Linked DNA regions of Homo sapiens: all the other regions are linked to region 2. Evidence: promoter capture Hi-C in 16 types of primary human blood cells and fetal thymus (Javierre and others, 2016). All regions are on one chromosome and are shown on one strand. The core of a region is centred on a gene start or on the middle of the fragment in contact, and the rest is flanking DNA. Distances in the headings are between cores, read along the strand shown.

Region 1 (5,182 bases), core at 2,070-4,569, 80 kb before region 2:
ATCACTCAGGCTAATGGTCGTGTGCTGGATGCCATCAGAGGGAAGTACCAATGGTAAAGTGGAAACAATGTGCAGCTTTCAACTGGGTGGAGGCTGCTATTCTGTGGACAGTGAGATGTTTCCTTGGCACTGTCAATAGACAATCTGCGTAGAGAAATTCCAAGCTGAAAGCCAATAATGTTATAATAAAATAGAGATTCTTCAGAAGATGAAAGGAATTACCAGCATGGAAATTGTGTCATAGGCTTAAGGGCTAAAGAAGAAGCCTTTTCTTTTCTGTTCACCCTCACCAAGAGCACAACTTAAATAGGGCATTTTATAACCTGAACACAATTTATATTGGACTTAATTATTATGTGTAATATGTTTATAATCCTTTAGATCTTATAAATATGTGGTATAAGGAATGCCATATAATGTGCCAAAAATCTGAGTGCATTTAATTTAATGCTTGCTTATAGTGCTAAAGTTAAATGATCTTAATTCTTTGCAATTATATATGAAAAATGACTGATTTTTCTTAAAATATGTAACTTATATAAATATATCTGTTTGTACAGATTTTAACCATAAAAACATTTTTGGAAAACCATAAATCAGTTCCTTTGTTTGTATTTTTCTCAAAGTTAAAAGTCTATAGAGAAAGACTGAATTTCCCTAAGGAGATTAAGAATTGCTTTAAGACTAGAATTAAAACACACTTTATTACATCTTTTTATGTACTTTTTGTTACTTTGTTTTGTATATCTCCAGTAAAATTTTTTTTGTTTAAATTATAGAAACATTACACAAAGCTCTGTTTTTCTCCCTTATAAGTACTTACTCATATAAGGAATTTTCCACTTAGGTAATATGATAGGAGCTTGAATTTTTTTAGTCACCCAAAATATGATTTACTTATATACAGAAAAAAGCCGAAAAATTTTAGTGTCTGCTCTTTTTACTGTTCTTTGAAGAGCTTTAATATGAGGAATTTTTCATATCAGATAGGATGTGGTGCTACTCAGCAGTATTTCTAGATTTGAACTGAAGTTCAGAAGGTACCAGCATATTCAACTGAGCATTTGTCTAGCAATACCCTACAATTACCTTTTCAAGCTGTGCAATTTATAAAGAAAAAAATACATTTTATCATCCAAGGAAATGTTATCAGTAAAAAGAATAGCTCTATCTCCAAATTAAATATTGATATCTTTATTACCCATCTTAAAGAAATTTTTTAAAATCCTGAGACTCAGAAAATTAAGTCATTTAAGGTTTCACACCTTGTTACTGTTAACCTAGACCATGTTACAAAGTAGTTGATTTCTAGTCTAATTTAACTTTTGCTATTATATCTCCCCCACCAAAAACCAGAGAGGCATGCTGCTTTCATTAGTGATCCACAGATATTCTTCCCCACCAGCTTCCCTGGATCCCACTCATCCCCAAATACTCTGATCTCACAGGTTAGAGATCTGTCACTGGGTGCAAAAGAACAAGAAAAGGCACTGTAAGGTAAACATTGATGATTTCTTGAAACTACCAGTAAGTAGCTTATATTTTCTGACTTTCTTTGTCTTACTGTTGTGAAATCAACTGATCTAGTTTTAAATGTAATGAAAAGCAAAGCAATAGATTCTCCCCTAGAGCCTGCAGATGGAATGCAGCCTTGTTAACATCTTGATTTAAGCTTCACAGACTTCTGATTTCCAAAACTGTAAGATAATAAGCTTCTGTTGTTTTAAGCCACAAAATTAGTAATAATTTGTTATAGCAGCAATAGGAAACAAGTACAAAATCTTTATTAGTTAATACTATGAATAGTTATTCATACCAGCTAAGAGATATTTGGAATTTATTATGGATCACTTTATTATGGTCACTGTAGTAATTCACCTGTTGCTCATAAAAACCTTATAAACATTTAGTATTGTTTTATGGCAATTGTTATTTTAAACAATATTATCAATGTATGTTAGTGTTATCATTATTAAAGTTATTATTGTTAAAGCATTGAAATTAAATAAATTAAGGTCAGTACCACAGAAGGCCTTTTGAATTTAGAACCCACATTAATAACCATCTTGTGGTACTTTCTTATCTTGCTTAGTGATACGGTTTGGCTGTGTCCACTCAAATCTCATCTTGAATTATGGCTCCCATAATGCCCACGTGTTGTGGGAGGGACCAGGTGGGAGGTAATCAAATCATGGGGGTGGGTTTTCATGTGCTTTTTTCATGATAGTGAATAAGTCGCCTGAGATCTGATGGCTTCATAAAGGGCAATTCCCCTGCACATGCTCTCTTGCCTGACACCATGTAAGATGTGCCTTTGTTCCTCTTTCATCTTCTGCTGTGGTTGTGAGGCCTCCCCACCCATGTGAAACTACAAGTCCATTACATCTCTTTTCCTTTATAAATTACCCAGTCTTGAGTATTTCTTCATAGCAGTATGAAAATGGACTAATATACTTAGGAAAACATAGAAATACTGAATAATGTGTTAAAATTTAGAAGGAATTACTAAAATAATTGAAATCAAAAGCATAGATTCAAAACAATGTATAAGAATTCAGCACAAAATAAGCAGGTAAAGAAATTTCTAAAATGAAGTAGAGAAAATGTGGTAATGACTCTAGTGTATAACGATCACCAACAGAATAGAAAGTCCAAAAAATAGACTTTATAGGAATAATACAGGGTAAAGATAGACTTCTTAGTAGGTTGGGACTACTGGATGGCCATATAGGAAAAGATCAAGTTGTAACCAGACCTCACACACAATACACTAAAATAAGAAAAAGGAACCACACCCAAATTGATAAAATATAAAATGTAAAACTATGAAAATGCATTTGAAGAAATCAAGGTTATGTTCTTCATAAACCTGTAGAGGAGAGGGCCTTTCTAAATGTGACTCAAAACTCTTGAAATCTCTCTTGACCCCATGTCTCAGTCAGTTTCAACACAATCTTTGTTCCCTTTCAAAGCAATATTTTAGTTAGTTACATCCCATTCTCTGTTTTTCAAAATTATTAAATGTGACACATACTGAAGAGTACAAAAAACATAAAATGTACAATATTCAATATAAATAAATTACAAGATGAACGCACAAGTAACAACCCAGGTACATACATTCAGCATTACTAAAATTCTATAGGTGTATATGACAACTTCTGACAACCCTGCTAGAGCCAACTAATATCACAACTTTCACAACTATTTTCTAGGATTTTATTATAAACATGTGAGCTCCTAAGTAATGTAATTTTGTTTGGCCTGTTTTCAAACTTTATTTAAATGGAATTACATTGTTTGTATTCTTTTATGCCTTGCTTCATTTGTTAATAAAATCTTTATAAGATTCATCTAGTTCATTGTGTGTAGTTGTAAGCTATATATATTCTACTGTTTAAAGATAACAATTCATTCTACTATTAATACATATCTGGATTTTCAGGTTTACCTTATGAAATGTTATTAAGGACATTCTTTTTTTTTTCTGTTTTTTTTTTTTTATGAGACAGAGTCTCACTCTATCACCCAGGCTGGAGTGAAGTGGCATGATCTCGGCTCAAGGCAACTTCTGCCTCCCAGGTTCAAGCAATTCTCATGCCTCAGCCTCCCAACTAGCTGGGACTACAGGCACACACCACTATGCCTGGCTAATTTTTGCATTTTTAGTAGAGATAGCGTCTCACCATGTTGTACAGGCAGGTCTTGAACTCCTGGCCTCAGGTGATCCACCCACCTCGGCTCCCCAAAGTGCTGGGATTACAGGTATGAGCCACCGCGCCCGATCGGAACATTCTCGAACATATACACTTGTGCATGTATATATAAAATTCCCTCTGTAACACTGAAGTCTTAGAGAATGGATATCCAGCTTTTCTTATTTATTAAATTTTTATTATTTTTAATTTTTGTGGGTACATAGTAGGAGTATATGTTTACGGGGTACATGAGATGCCTTGATACAGACATGCAGTGCATAATGATCAGATGGAGAAGGGGTATCTATCTACTCAAGCATTTACTCTTTGTATTACAAACAATCCAATTATACACTTTCAGTAATTTTAAGAAGTACAATTAAATTATTATTGACTATAATCTTCCCTTTGTGCTATTAAATATTAGGTCTCATTCATTCTTTCTAACTATATTTTTTGTACTCGTTAAACATCCTCACCTCACCCCTATCACCCTGCCCCACTACACTTCCCAGACTCTGGTAGAGATCCTCTACTCTCTACAGTTATGAATTCAATTGGTTTGATTTTTAGATCCTGCAAATAAGTGAGAACATGCAATGTTTGTTTTAATATGCTTGGCTTATTTCACTTAACATAATGATCTCCAGTTCCATCCAAGTTGTTGCGGATGACAGGATCTCATTATTTTTATGGCTGAATAGAACTCCATTGTGTAAAAGTACCACATTTTCTTTATGCATTCATGTGTCGATGGATACTTGGCTTGCTTCCAAATCTTGGCTATTGTGAAAAGCAATGCAACAAACATGGGAGTGGGAATATCTCTTCGGTATATTGATTTCTTTCTTTTGGGTATATACCCAGCAGTGGGATTGCTGGATCATATAGTAGCTTAATTTTTAAGTTTTCTGAGAACCCCAAAGTGTTCTCCTTAGTGGTTGTACGAATTTACAATCCCACCAACAATGTACAAGGACTTCCTTTCCTGCACATCCTTGCCAGCATTTGTTACTGACTGTTTTTTGGACATAAGCCATTTTAACTGGAGTGAGATGATGTCATTGTAGTTTTGATTTGCATTTCTCTGATGATCCATGATGTTGAGCACCTTTTCATATGACTGTTTTCCATTCATATGTCTTTTTTGAGAAATGTCTATTCAAATCTTTTGCCCATTTTTTGATTGGATAATTAGATTTTTTCCTATAGAGTTGTTTAAGCTTCTTATATTTTCTAGTTATTAATCCTTTGTCAGATGGGTAGTTTGCAAGTATCTTCTTGCATTCTCTATGTTGTGTCTTCACTTCGTTTATGGATTCCTTTGCTGTGCAGAACCTTTTTAACTTGACATGATCCCATTTACCCATTTTTGCTTTTGTTCCCTGTGCTTGAGGGGTATTACCCAAACAATTTTTGCCCAGACCAATGTCCTGGAGAGTTTCCCCAATGTTTCTTGTAGTAGTTTTATAGTTTGAAGTCTT
Region 2 (4,924 bases), core at 1,712-4,211:
AATAATCCTGTTTACCTCTTCTCTGGGTGATTCAGGGGCCCCCTGATCCTTCCAAAAAGCCAGGCATCGGGAAAGACAATTTTGAAACTGAAGTTTGATTTTGGGAAGGCTGTTAAATATGTTCGGAGTTTAAAACACTTGATACTATGAAATAGAATTCCAGATTACCATGAATGATGTATTTTGCCAAAAGGTTGACTCAGAAATATTAAAGAAGCAAAAGCCTTTTATAACCCTTTACAAATTTTGCCGAAGAGCAAATTAGTGCCTTAAGAAAACCTTATTGTACTTTTAATGCTCAGTTTACAGAAAAACAATATAATACCTTTCTGAATTTAGTCAATATGTTCACACAGAGAATTTCTTTTGCAAGATTTTTAGAAACCTTCCACCACTTATTTGAACTTTTAGCTTTATCTTAATTTAAAACAATTGTTTAACCCTAGGCAATAATTTACTTTTCCATACCTTCTTATAACGTTTTACAAAAAAAAAAAAAACACATTCTATTCTTCTTATACAATTTGCATGTAAAACTATTTTAGTAGTCTCAATTACATGTAATAATGGTGACTGTTAGTCATTTTAATTTTAATTTTAATGTCTTTTCTTATTCATGTTTTATAAAATAATTTTTTGAGAGAGACTGTCAGTCTGTCACCCAGGCTGAAGTGCAGTGGTGCTATCTCGGCTCACTGCAACCTCTGCCTCCCAGGTTCAAGCGATTCTCCTGCTTCAGCTTCCCTAGTAGCTGGGAGTACAGGCATGTACCACCACACCTGGCTAATTTTTTTGTATTTTTGCAGAGTCGGGGTTTCACTGTGTTGACCAGGCTGGTCTCAAGCTCCTGACCTCAAGTGATCCACCCACCTCAGTCTCCCAAAGTGCTGGGATTACAGGTGTGAGCCACCTCGCCCAGCATTTACACTGCACTATTTTTAGCTGGTTTATATATAACATGTTTCCCTAGGATCAATGCCATCCTGTTTTCCCATTAGAGAATTGACAACACAATTTGCTGGTACATCCTCAAATTTGCTATACCTTCCTTGTATTCTTCATCCTATGCTCACCTTGGAAATGTGGTAGCCATTTGCTTATCTAAAAGAATATTAAAATTTATCTCCCTTGGAAGAAATGGCTATAGACAGGATAGGCACCGGGCTTAAGCTCCCAAAGTGTCAGGAAGCCTGGGTCTCTGTCTTTCTGGATATTTCCATTTCAAAAGGCATGGAGCCCAGACTCTTGAAGACATCTCTGGGTTGTAAAGCTGGCACTGATATTTAGCCCCTAGAAAGCTCTATTTGTATTCAAAAGGTTAAAGAAAGGACTCTGGCCCACTTGTCTCTAAAGAAACACTCTAAAAACAAGCTGGGGTCTGGCATGGTGGCTCACACCTGTAATTCCAACACCTTGGGAGGCTGAGGCGGGTGGATCACCTGAGATTGGGAGTTCGACATCAGCCTGACCAACATAGAGAAACTCCATCTCTACTAAAAATACAAAATTAGCCGGGCTTGGTGGCTCATGCCTGTAATCCTAGCTACTCAGGAGGCTGAGACAGGAGAATCGCTTGAACCCAGGAGGTGGAGGTTGCAGTGAGCGAAGATTGTACCATTGCACTCCAGCCTGGGCAACAAGAGAGAAACTCTGTCTCAAAAAAAAAAAACACAAGTTGGGAAAGTGGGATCTTTTTTTCTTATAAATTTATGTACCCTTAAATTATACATGATTCACAAAGATTCAATTTTGCCTGGGGCTATTTTTTGTTTGCATGATATAAACAATAGATTTTATTACTTAGAAGCAGGTGATTTCCTAGCAATAGTTCTGTTTTGAAATAACCCTGCCTTACTTTCACTTTAAATCTCATCAATATTCACACACACACAGAGAAGTCTTACTCTCTGCTCTCCATTTCTCTCTCTCTCTTCCCCGCTTCCCACCTTCCTCTCTTTTAGAGACAATGTGCAGTAGAGAATCAATGTGGTTTTAACCAAATGGATTTTCAAGTTTGAATCTCGCTCAATTACTTGCTACCTTGGTGTGTAGCTCAATGGCTTTAGTTAGACATATTAATTACCCGTTTTCTGATTATTTTTCCCCCTTGGACAATGGGGATAATAAACAACCTTTATCTTGAGGTATTTTGATATTTAAAATGGTATGTGTAAAGAATATGGCCTAGAATGGAACTGATAAGGAGAAAACATTGTTATTGTACACTCAGCAAACACAGAGGTATTTTAATGAAGTGACTGACAGCAAGACTTCTTGGGCCCAAATCTTATTTAGTAGCTCTGTAATTGTAATAAATTATTAAATCCCTCTTTTAACATTGTGGTAAAAGTATTTGTGATAAGAATACAATGGGATAATCTATGTAAACAAAACGGGTACTATCTTCATTATTATTTATTAAATGTTAAGTGCCAAGACCTGAGTTAGGTGCTAATAATTCAAACATGTATAAGACGTGGACATTCCTTCAGGGCATTTAGAGTCCTCATTATTAAACACAAATAATGAGTTCCATTTTAAGAGTCTAATATTCAAGCCAATTGAACCTAAATAATATTATATTAAGCTTTCTTATTCCTGTACTTCTCAATGTGGCCCACAAACATGAGATGAATGTCATTATTTTAAACGATTCATTGAAGTTTTTTTAATAATCGCAAGCTGTCTCTAAGATCTCTTCCAATAATAAAATTGGAAGATTCTGTTTGAGAAATTATGTCAAATCCTCTCACTAGCACAGCTGTCAGCAATTTCTTTTATTGTTGCTAAATCATGGACTGTCATATTACTCTATTTATTTGCAGAGGTTGCATTGTTTTTTACATGTATAAATACAGGTCTCTAGAAAGTCTGGAAAGCCCCATGACATTGGAGAGGTAAGGTAAAAGTCCAAAGTTCCAGCAAGAAAAAAAGTGGGAGAAATCAGTGCAGCCAAATTCAGAACTAAAGAGAAGAGAATAAAGACTCATAACTTTCTCATTGAAGCTGCCTTCTTACCAAGTCCAGAGGATCTCTACTCTGGGTAAGACTATGACTTATAAGGATTTCATGATTTATAAGGATCCATTAGTTTTCTCTAAGTTGACCATCCCCAAGATAGGCTGCAGCTGAGCCAGCTACAGGATACAAGTCCAGATGAAATCCTGGCCTCTTAGGTGGCTGTGTGTACCTTAGTGTGCTCTAATTCCTGCTGTGTCAGATTAGGCTTCAGCAGAGGTGGAACAGATATTCAGAGAAGCCAGTGTTCTAAGATTGTTATTTCTTTTCTGACACCATCTTAAATTACTGTTATCTTTAAATATCTGCCTAATAGGCTCTGTCACTTTCTTTATTGGGCCCAACATTTATAGCTCTAGGTAAATGAAGGTAGGCAACTTGGGATCTGCAAAAAGAGGCAACACATTATTATAATCCAGGACCTTATAACATCTTTGTGCCACCACCTTTCTGAGCCGGTGACTGATTGATTCCTATGTTATGGTAGCATAGTATATGCTACAGAATTGGACAGACGCATACTCTGTTTTCACTCATCTTCCATAGATACCCAATCTTTTTAGTTTCTGGTTTGCCCTTCTTGCTTGCCAGCAGATCCTGTAGGCCATTGCTATAAGAGGAAATGGGTCATGATCACAGAAAAATAAACGGCTTTTTTTCCATCTTCTGCTGAAGTGATGGGAAGCCAGATAATTTAATATAAACCTCCAGAGGAACAAGTCAGAAGTAACCAACTCTATAGTGGAAACAAACCACTCTTTATTATAGGATAAAAAAGAAAACTGCAGTATCTATCATCTATATTTGCTTGTATCTTAAAGAGATTATATATTTTGTATCATGATCACATAAGTTACAAGGATTGAGACATTCAACTTAAAAACACAAAATTAAAGCATCACTACAAGAAGGCTTTTCACTCCTTTTAACTTTACAAAATTATCAAAATATTTAATTTATCAAGCCCTGGATAAAGATAGCATGATTACAATTGTGCATATGCTACTCTCTATACAGCAGAGATCAGACAAAAAACAAGCCATGGTTTTTCAAAGAATGTTTCATGCTGTGACTTCATTACATGAAATAATTAAAAACAATATGCAGACTGATATACATGGAGGTAATAAAGAATCAATCTTCAAATGCAGAGAATTCAAAATCTGTTAACATAATCAAGTCAAAAATCAACAGAGTAAGTGTCAGGTGCGAGCTATCAGGCTTGCATGAATAACGTGTGAATGCTGATGCACAGTGAGAGGAGGAAGCCATTGGGTAACCTGAGTCCCACAGTCTGACCAGACCCTGCCCACAGAGGGGCTTGCAAGAAATCAGGACCAAGAATGGGTTAGAATGGTATCTATGTTTCAAAGTATAGAGATATGTATAACACAATGTTTCCCAGGTGAAGATTACTACTACTATATACATGAGCTCAGCGAGCTCAGCTTTGCTCAGTCCAAAGATCTAAATGTGAACGTGAAAAGCTTCCAAAGGAAATTTTGTAATTAATTCAGAAGAGCAAGCGGGGCACCTAGGAAAAATTCCATTTTCTAGAAAATGACATACAAGATGAGCTGGTGGGAATGCAACCTTGTACAACTTTCTGGAGAGGAACTTGGCAATATCTACAAAATTATATACTCTCATCTTTTGACCAAGCAATCCCGTTGGTAGGACTCTATCCTGAAATTACTCCTGTAACAATATAAAAATACACATGCATAACGTTAGCAGAGTTATTCATTGCAGCATTGTTTGTAATTGCAAAATATTTGAAACAATCTAAATGCCCATACATTGAAGAGTGATTGAATAAACTGGGGTATAATCCACATAAAGGAGTAGATACATGTTAAAAGGATTTTAAAAGCTTTCTATGAACAGATGTGGAGGGATTTCCAAA
Region 3 (4,759 bases), core at 838-3,337, 120 kb before region 2:
GCTCTCCATTTACATTCAAAATAAAAGTTTCATTTCATACAGTTGAGTGTTAACAGTACAATTATTCCATGGGTCTACAAGCAAATACTTGACTCTCAATATATTTAAATGGTTCTCTATATCTCTATTTTTATAGCAAGATTATGTAAACATAACATGAAGGCTACCATAATTTCCAAGAAGAGATGTTGGATATGATAAGTGCCCTCTTCACTAAGAATGTGAAATATGGATATGGATATATCTTAATTCAAACTAAATTTCGAATAATTCATAAGTGGAATTTTAACAGGACAAATAATCTAATTTACCCTGCCTACGTATTCACCTCTCTAGTCTAGTTTGTTTGTAATATGCTTCACCAGGAAATTGTTTTTCCAGGATATCTCAAGCATATTAACTAAAGAAAAAAATAATTAATTGTTTAAATACAGTGACCTGAGAAACACACAAGAGTGAATAGGAAGATAAAGGTGAATTTAGTAAGAAAAGATAGGACTTATGACGGTATTCACACTGTGTAGAGTTTGCTTGTGATTTTAGAACTGTAGTCCCAATATTTGAATCCCATTGATGTCCCAAATTTCCTGCCTCTTTCAGGGCTGGGGATTCTGGTAGTGACTTATGTGAATATCATCAACAGTGGAATGGTTTCATTATTTGGAAAATGCAGAAACACCTCTGACTCAGAGTGAGAACACACTGGCCCTACAGAGTGATGTTCTCACAGACAAGTCCTGCAGATGCCTTACCTGGCTCATTTCAAAGCTTTCATATAGCATCCTTCTAGTATGACAAGCATTTCATGATACTTTGTCTTAGTAGTTGGCTCTGTTACCTTAATTTTAGAATAATAGCTAGTGGCCACTTTATAGGCAATAAGATTACCTATCATTCATAGGAGATTCTTCTGAGTAAGGAATTTATAGAGAACTGTATTACTCTATTTTATCTCTTTCTCCTCCAAACTTGGAGATAAAATAGAGTAACACAGTTCTCTATAAATTCCAGATAATTTTTATCTGGAAATCTGTCTGACTTCTGAAGCAAATTCAGGACTGACCTTCTTATATCCTCCTTTAGTGAATACTTGAAAAGTCACCTTATGTGCTTGTAATTTTAGTTATTTTGAATTTGTCATGTTTTCTGTGGACTCTTTTCCATTCATAGCAACCCAAGTTTCTCTGGGAAGATTTTCTTACCAAGTCATTTTTTTTTTTTTTTGAGACAGAGTCTCACTCTGTCACCCAGGCTGGAGTGCAGTGGTGTGATCTCAGCTCACTGCAACCTCCACCCCCCGGGTTCAAGCAATTCTCCTGCCTCAGCCTACCAAGTAGCTGAGACTACAGGTGCCCACAACCACGCCCAGCTAATTTTTGTATTTTCAGTAGAGGTGGGGTTTCACCATGTTGACCAGGCTGGACTCGAACTCCTGACCTCAAATGATCCACCCACCTGAGTCTCCCAAAGTGCTGGGATTACAGGTGTGAGCCACTGCACCTGGCCTAGTCTTTCTTTATATTTATTTTGCTTTTAGTTATATCACTTGTCTTAGTCCATTCTGGCTGCTATAACAAAATACCTTAGACCAGGTAAATTGTAAACAGAAATTTGTTTCTTACAGTTCTAGAGGCTGGGCCATCCAAGACAGAGTGCTGGCAGATTTGGTGGCTGGTGAGAGCTGCTCTTGGCTTCAAAGATGGTGCCTTGTTGCTGTATCTGCACATGATGGAAGGAGAAGGGTCACTCCTTTCAACCTCTTTTATAAGTGCATTAATCCCATTCAAATCACTTTCTAAAAGCCCTGCCTCTTAATACTATCACATTGAATATTTGGTCCTAACATATAAATTTTAGGGGACACTAACCTTCGGACCATAACACCACTGTTATTTATCCTGTAGGTGGATTCCCAGGATGTTCCAGCAGCAAGATACCATAGAGATTATGTGCTGTAAAATCAACATTACACAGGGAGGCCCAAGGAAGTAAGAAACATATCAATAGTCTTATAGAGAGCACTTTTCCAAGTTGGGAGTGATTCGAATTTATTTTTGTTAGATTTTGCTTTATTTTAATGACTTGGTTGAAATCTAATTTACACACTATATATTTTACCTATTTAAAGTGCACATTCAATTCTTGAAGGGAAGGCAGGCTAGGAAAACTTCCTGAAAGAGGAGTGTGATGTAAATTTTGAAGAATGTGTTCATGCTCTCCAAGTTTAGATGCTTTTTCTTTCCCAGGGTTTGTGCTGCTACTTTGAATTATTCCAGATTATCTCATGGAGCCATATTAAATGGGATTCCCAGGTTTACCATGTAGATATTGTAACTAGGGTTAAATATAAGCAGCAATTGGTTATTTTAAGGTTATCTTTGTGTGGTAGTATGTTTCCTAAAAACGGGAACCCTACCACCATACGGAGATCCTGACCTAGATTTAGCAGATATGCACACTCAGAAATGCAGGGAACTGACAGCTAATCTAGCTGCAGATGTTTTTCTGCCTCTTTAACTTCTAAAGAGAAGACCCATAGGCAGAAAAAAACATGTGAAAATATGAAAGCACCAGAAGTTATGCATTTATAAAGGTACGCATTTTTCTAAGTGGTGGAACCTAGCATTGATGGGGAGAAGCAACATTGGCAGGGGAGGTTGGAGGGGGAGCAATACAAGCAAGATCTTGAAAACTTGTGTGGGCAGGCAAAGAATAAGGAAACATTAATTGGAACAGAATTTCTCCTCAGAGTATTTCATTGGAAGTTTAAGTTTGACCTGCGTGATGTGTCTTGGCCTTTTCTTGGTTCCTCAAAATAATTGAGCTCTCCAGCGCTTGCTGTGGTTGTAGCAGATGTGGATAGAATCCAACCTGTGGAAATCCAAGGCCTTGCAAGGTACAGGGGCAGGTCTCAGCTTCCATCAGGGTGGGTAGTTTCCTGCAGGGCTGTTTGAGAGATCTGATGGGAGGATTTTCTGAAACAAGGAGCTTCCTAAATGTGAAAATAACAACAGAGTTGTGGTAGAGCGTCAGCCAGACAGCTGTGTCTTGCCCATCACATTCTGAAGTTTGCTCTTATTGTATGGCCACTGGATGAATTCAAATATTTCCCATCTGCCTTTTCAACAGCAGTTTGATATCTGAGAAGGGATGTATGGCACTCACGTCTGACTGTTCTTTTTCTTCCCTCTCAAAAACCTTCACGGATCAGCAAAGCGAGCCAAAAAAAAAAAAAAAAAATCACCTGAAAAGGAAAAAAATGCTTCTCAAGCAAAGGTGTAAAGAACAGCAGCAAAACTTGGAGGCTCAAGAGAGGAGCTTTGTGGAAATCAAAGCCCAACTGAGAAAGGAGTGAAAGAAAAGGAAAACCTACTGAGAGAGCAGGATCAGAAGACTCTGAAGCTTGAGATGAGTCTGGCCTGGATCTAGGCAGTGCTTTCTGGGCAATGCCATGGTACTTCAGGATAGGATGGGTGAAAATTAAAGCAAAGGCATAGAGAGGACATCGTTGTCATGTATTATATTCAAACCTAAATAACTGTTTTTTTTTTAATGGTTTATTCATGGCCTCTAAGTTCTGTTCACAGTGTGTCTTTGGAGAGTTCTGTTAAGATTCTGGTAACTCAAGCATTTATAAAATACTGTTATTTTATAAAGTTATTTATAAAATACTGTTATTTTATAAAGTTATTTATAAAATACTGTTATTTTATAAAGTTATTTATAAAATACTGTTATTTTATAAAGTTATTTATAAAATATAAATAACTTTCCCAGGGTTTGTGCTGTTTTGAATTACTCCAGATGATCTCATGGAGCCAATATTAAATGGGGTTCCCAGGTTTACCAGGTGGATATTCTAACTAGGGTTATCTAATATAAGCAGCAATTGGTTATCTTTGCCAAGGTTATCTTTTTGTGGTAGTGTGTTTCCTAAAACCGGAAACCCTCCTACCACACAAAGATCCTAAGATAGGCCCACACTGACCTAAAATTAGCAGATATGCACACTCAGAAATGCAGGGAACTGACAGCTAATCTAGTGGCAGTTGTCTCCAGGTGAAGATAGCCTGCCTGAACAAGCACACAGCATAGAGAGAATTCTCTTTTTTCTTATCTGGAAGTGTTGATAGCTTCCTCTCACTTTCCCAGTCAAACCAGGATATATTCCTGCTGCAAACATCCTCTCATGATGAAAACACTTTTAAAAGAAAAATATAGACAGTGTTACAAGCTGTTAATATAAAGTCATATTTTTGAAAAAATGAAGATGTTAAGAAGTTTACCATTTACTTTCCTATTGCTGTATTTTTATAACCAAGTTGAATAACTAAGAAAAGCGAGTGACGATGTGCAAAACACTTAAAACAATTGTACTTCAAAGTCAAAGGAAAAAATTTGTGAAAAACAACCACAATGGCTTGCAATGTCTTAATTTTACCCTCTGTTGATATTATAAAATGTATGTTGTTACTATTTGAATTTATTTCCTTTGAATAATAATTTAAAGCAATTTAAAACATTTTTGATACAGCTTTTTTGTTCTGACTTATTTTTATGTCTGTATGCATTTTTCTGTCCTTCACCAAAATTTTAATATGAAAATAGAAAAAGCATCTAATATGGGATATCAATACCTGGCAAACAAAAGATAGAATAAATGTTGGCTGGATTCATTAATTTAAAGTGAAATGTAAACAGTTGTTTAGAATACAGAGGAGAAGAAAAAAACAAATTTGCATTAATCTGAAAAACATTA
Region 4 (4,466 bases), core at 1,881-4,380, 120 kb after region 2:
GCCTTAAAATGCCCACCAACCTTGAATTTTAATTTTACAATTATCTGTTGATGATCATTAGAAGACCTAGTAAGAATCATGGTAACCCAAAAACACTCGTCGAAAAACTACCCAAAAGCCACATCCTACTGAGAATAATTTTTGTATTTGTCTTCCTTTAATAGGTCATTAGTGTTAAAAAAAAAAAAAAAAAAGAAAAGAAAAAAAAACCCTCTAACATATGAACATAGTTTTACTACTGTTACTCTGAAAAGTGCTGCGATGATGAAACTTGCTCCTGACTCCAGTGTGTCTTGACTTCCAGGGTGACAACCAGAATGACTCCTGGATCTTCGCCCTGGCCGTCCTCCTGAGCAGCACCTTCGTGTACAATAGCATAGGAACCATCAACCAGCAGGCTATGGACCAACTGTAGTATCCTTTTGTGACCCAGAACAGCACCAAGGTCAGAGGGGACACCTGTATTCATACACCAGCTGCCTGACTGTGAATCCTGATGAATCAAGCTCAAAAGGAGAAAACAAAAAATAATGCAAGTACAGAGGAGAGATCCCATGTATCCACTTTAGAACTGACACTGACACTTAGGTTAGGAGCAAAGGAAAATGGAAGGTTTGGGTATGTGTTGAACTAACATGGGATGAGGTCCCTGTTCATTTTGTCACATTTCCTTAGTTAGCTACTCAGCTATGTGACAGAGCTGACACATAGAATCCGATCAAAATCCTCACCTGATGAGAATGAGAATGAGGTTGAGGATTCAGCTGACTTTGTGAGCTTCTTCCCAGACTTTGTGTGGACACTGAGAGATTTCTCCCTGGACTTGGAAGCAGATGGACAACCCCTCACACCAGATGAGTACCTGACATACTCCCTGAAGCTGAAGAAAGGTAACAGAGAGCTTCAACTGATAAATGAGGATGAGAAAACACAAGAAATTATCATTTTTCAGTTTACTATTGCTAGTTTTCCAGCATTTGCAGTTTTCTATGTCTTCAGCTGGCTATTCCTAGAAATTAATACTTGCTGAATATCCAAATTAATAGATGTTATTTTAAATTACATTTGTCATTGTTCTAGAACAAGTTTCTTGTTCTTTCACCTTTGTGTATGCTGTGATTAGGTTAATTTTATCTCCCTGCCTAGGGTTTGTGATCTTCTACTTAGCCATAGAGTATGGAGTACAATGGATATTTATTTAAAGAACATAGACTAAAACATGAACCGTGTGCTAGTCCAAGCATTGGCAAACTACAGCCCAAGACAAATCATGGCAAATCCTGCCTGCCAGCTGTCTTTGTAAATAAGGTTTTTTTGGAATAATGCTATGCCCATTCATTTACATATTGTCTAAAGCTGTTGTCATGCTTCAATAACAGAGTTGAATACTTGGAAAAGAGACCATCCAGCCTGAAGAGCCTAAAATATTTACTATTTGGCCCTTTACAGAAACACTTATATTAGGCAATTTTATAATTTTTTAAATGTTTTTCTAGGTACCAGTCAAAAAGATGAAACTTTTAACCTGCCCAGACTCTGTATCCGGAAATTCTTCCCAAAGAAAAAATGCTTTGTCTTTGATCGGCCCGTTCACCGCAGGAAGCTTGCCCAGCTCGAGAAACTACAAGATGAAGAGCTGGACCCCGAATTTGTGCAACAAGTAGCAGACTTCTGTTCCTACATCTTTAGTAATTCCAAAACTAAAACTCTTTCAGGAGGCATCCAGGTCAACGGGCCTCGTAAGTCCCCTTCCTAGTACTTCTGCTCATTGTTTAAGACTAGAGGAGCATAGAATAACTTCCACCTAGTTTCAGCATTGAAAAATCCCAATCTACTGCTATATTTGTGTTAAATTCTAGATGGCACCAATGTTTCTAACATATATTGTTAGTCACATTTCCAGTCTAGGAAAAGGCCAAAGGAAAAAAGTTCTATTGCTTGAAATTGCCCTAGTGAACTGGACCTGCACTATGCAATAGAGTAGCCCCTAGACAAGTGTGTCTATGTAAACATAAATGTAAATAATTTAAATAGGGAAAATTTAAAAGTCAATTCACATGCCTGTATTTCAAGGACTAATATTTACACGTACTTAGTGACTAGCACACTGAAAAGCACATATACAACATTCCCAGCATTACAGAAAGCGCTTTTGAACAATACTGCAATAAAATAAACTAAATGGATGACTCTTTTTTATTGGAATAGTGTCATTTGTTTCATACATATTGATCAAATGCTTACTATGAATAGACTGAAGATACAGATATAAATGAAATAGATATGGTTCCTGTCCTAATGTTGGTTGGGGTTAAAATGGATGCAAACATTCAATTAACACAAGTCTATGTAATCTAGTACAAGAACTCTCAAATGTTGGTATGCATACATATCTTCTGAGGATCTTACCAAACACAAAAGTCTAATTCAATAGATCTCGGACAGGGTCTGAGAGTCTATTTCCAGCAAGCTTCCAAGTGATGCTGAGGACATTGATGCTGTGAGGAAAATAGGTGGTATTTGACATGCTCAGAATTACATGGAATAGAGACTTTCTTTACCACCAGAAACATTATCATTTGTTCTTCATATGCAGGTCTAGAGAGCCTGGTGCTGACCTACGTCAATGCCATCAGCAGTGGGGATCTGCCGTGCATGGAGAACGCAGTCCTGGCCTTGGCCCAGATAGAGAACTCAGCTGCAGTGCAAAAGGCTATTGCCCACTATGAACAGCAGATGGGCCAGAAGGTGCAGCTGCCCACAGAAACCCTCCAGGAGCTGCTGGACCTGCACAGGGACAGTGAGAGAGAGGCCATTGAAGTCTTCATCAGGAGTTCCTTCAAAGATGTGGACCATCTATTTCAAAAGGAGTTAGCGGTAATTTTTGTCTCAAATGTATACGGTTTAGGGTCATAGAAGCTAAAGTACCACAAGGAAAGAAAACTATTATTTATTTTGACGGAAGTAATTCCTCCTAGCTTCCATAATGGTGAAAACAACAGATTTGTGATCACATCAGTCAGAAGGACCAACTGTATTATTACAGACCCAAAGTTCTAAAACATTTTTTCCTGAATAATTTTCCCTTTACTTATGCATACAACTGACAACCAGAGCTTCTAATAAAATTACCTGCCCACTCTTCTCAGACTGATTTGATATTCTAGCCAAACACAAAGAAAATTTTCATCCTACTTATCTTGAGCAGGCTTCCGTTCAGCCACATTTATTCCATATGAAATCATTAGTCCAATATGCAAAAACAGAGTTTTCCTCTAACAGTTGACATAAAGCTATCAATCTCAGCCCTGAACCTCACCTCCAAAAAGAAAGCGACTTCAGCAGAAAGTGGGGTCAGAAGGAAGAGTGTGGTCCTGGTGAGGAGGCTGTCAGTTTCTCCAGCATCATTGACTTCTATTTTCAGAAATCGTTCCCAAAATTCTGAGGTCAAGCTAACATCCTTTCCCTGTTACTCTTTTTACTTCCTATTTTTACATTAAAGGCCCAGCTAGAAAAAAAGCGGGATGACTTTTGTAAACAGAATCAGGAAGCATCATCAGATCGTTGCTCAGCTTTACTTCAGGTCATTTTCAGTCCTCTAGAAGAAGAAGTGAAGGCGGGAATTTATTCGAAACCAGGGGGCTATCGTCTCTTTGTTCAGAAGCTACAAGACCTGAAGAAAAAGTACTATGAGGAACCGAGGAAGGGGATACAGGTAACCAAGATTTATCTGTCAATTATGGAAAGCTGCTGACCTGCCTCCTACAAACACCAAGGTGACCAAGCTTCACTGCATACAGATGTGCTTTTTTGTTTGCATAACATTCATGCTTTTATTCAATAACATATGCAAACAGGCTGTTATACCAGATATGTCCTAGGTGCTCATCAAAGAGAGTGCAGTCAATTAACTATTAAGTTATAAATTCAATTAGCAGATGAAGCACAAAGTTATTATTGTCATCATTACAGCTGGGCTTTTCCTGTTGCAAGAGACAGGAACCCAATGATGGCTGCTTAAACAAAAATGTAATTCATTGATTTAGGCTGCAAACTGGCTTTACAGGTCAGGTGGGTCTAAGGTTTCAAGTAACATCATGAACTGGCTCTCTGTCCAGTGTTCCCCCATCCCCACAGTTTTCTCCCTCCCACCATCCCTCTATCTGAGTCACTCTGATATTTGCTTTCTCAATGATGGCTTCATTCCCCAGCAGGCTCAGCCCATATGGGACCACAGCATTAACAGTTCCAAACTTAGAGCCCTTAATCTAAACAGGACAGAGACTCTCCTTTTCCCAGTATCTATATTAGCCTACTAAAAATGACTGCTAAGTAGGATGTTCTGATCGGCTTGCCAGGAGCATGTGTCTGTCGCTCCGACAGGGAATTTGACCACCAAGGACAATAGGGCCAAGAGAAAGAATTCCCAGAGGAGAAAGGATGGCAGGAAGACAAACAGGAACACC

Evidence for each region. Contacts are between HindIII fragments. The CHiCAGO score rates a contact against its expected background, and 5 or more counts as called.
Region 1: a fragment that was not itself captured here is called in contact with the fragment with the promoter of GBP7 in region 2 in 1 of 17 cell types (activated CD4 T cells); the score reaches 6.0 in activated CD4 T cells.
Region 3: a contact is called between a fragment that was not itself captured here and the fragment with the promoter of GBP7 in region 2, in 1 of 17 cell types (activated CD4 T cells). The highest score is 5.2, in activated CD4 T cells.
Region 4: a contact is called between a fragment that was not itself captured here and the fragment with the promoter of GBP7 in region 2, in 1 of 17 cell types (activated CD4 T cells). The highest score is 5.2, in activated CD4 T cells.

The regions. Positions count from the first base shown.
Region 1 is chr1:89,254,364-89,259,545 of GRCh38, reverse strand. GBP5 (guanylate binding protein 5) reads left to right here. Exons shown (of 12, transcript NM_052942.5): 12 at 1-3,357. It also overlaps the pseudogene LOC100421401. Among named protein-coding and RNA genes, the nearest start is that of GBP5, 16 kb to the left of the region's middle. The HindIII fragment of the contact is 3,209 bases long and covers 1,715-4,923 here.
Region 2 is chr1:89,174,040-89,178,963 of GRCh38, reverse strand. GBP7 (guanylate binding protein 7) reads left to right here and starts at 2,961. Exons shown (of 11, transcript NM_207398.3): 1 at 2,961-3,043. The region is part of intron 3 of LOC105378842 (a long non-coding RNA gene); the gene reads right to left. The HindIII fragment of the contact is 1,918 bases long and covers 2,590-4,507 here.
Region 3 is chr1:89,294,609-89,299,367 of GRCh38, reverse strand. It overlaps the pseudogene LOC100421401. Among named protein-coding and RNA genes, the nearest start is that of GBP5, 24 kb to the right of the region's middle. The HindIII fragment of the contact is 2,634 bases long and covers 771-3,404 here.
Region 4 is chr1:89,055,265-89,059,730 of GRCh38, reverse strand. It overlaps GBP1 (guanylate binding protein 1), which reads left to right. Exons shown (of 11, transcript NM_002053.3): 4 at 305-414; 5 at 688-890; 6 at 1,497-1,739; 7 at 2,597-2,877; 8 at 3,503-3,715. The region is part of intron 2 of LOC105378841 (a long non-coding RNA gene); the gene reads right to left. Among named protein-coding and RNA genes, the nearest start is that of GBP1, 7.7 kb to the left of the region's middle. RefSeq lists an enhancer at 2,389-3,588. The HindIII fragment of the contact is 1,315 bases long and covers 2,473-3,787 here.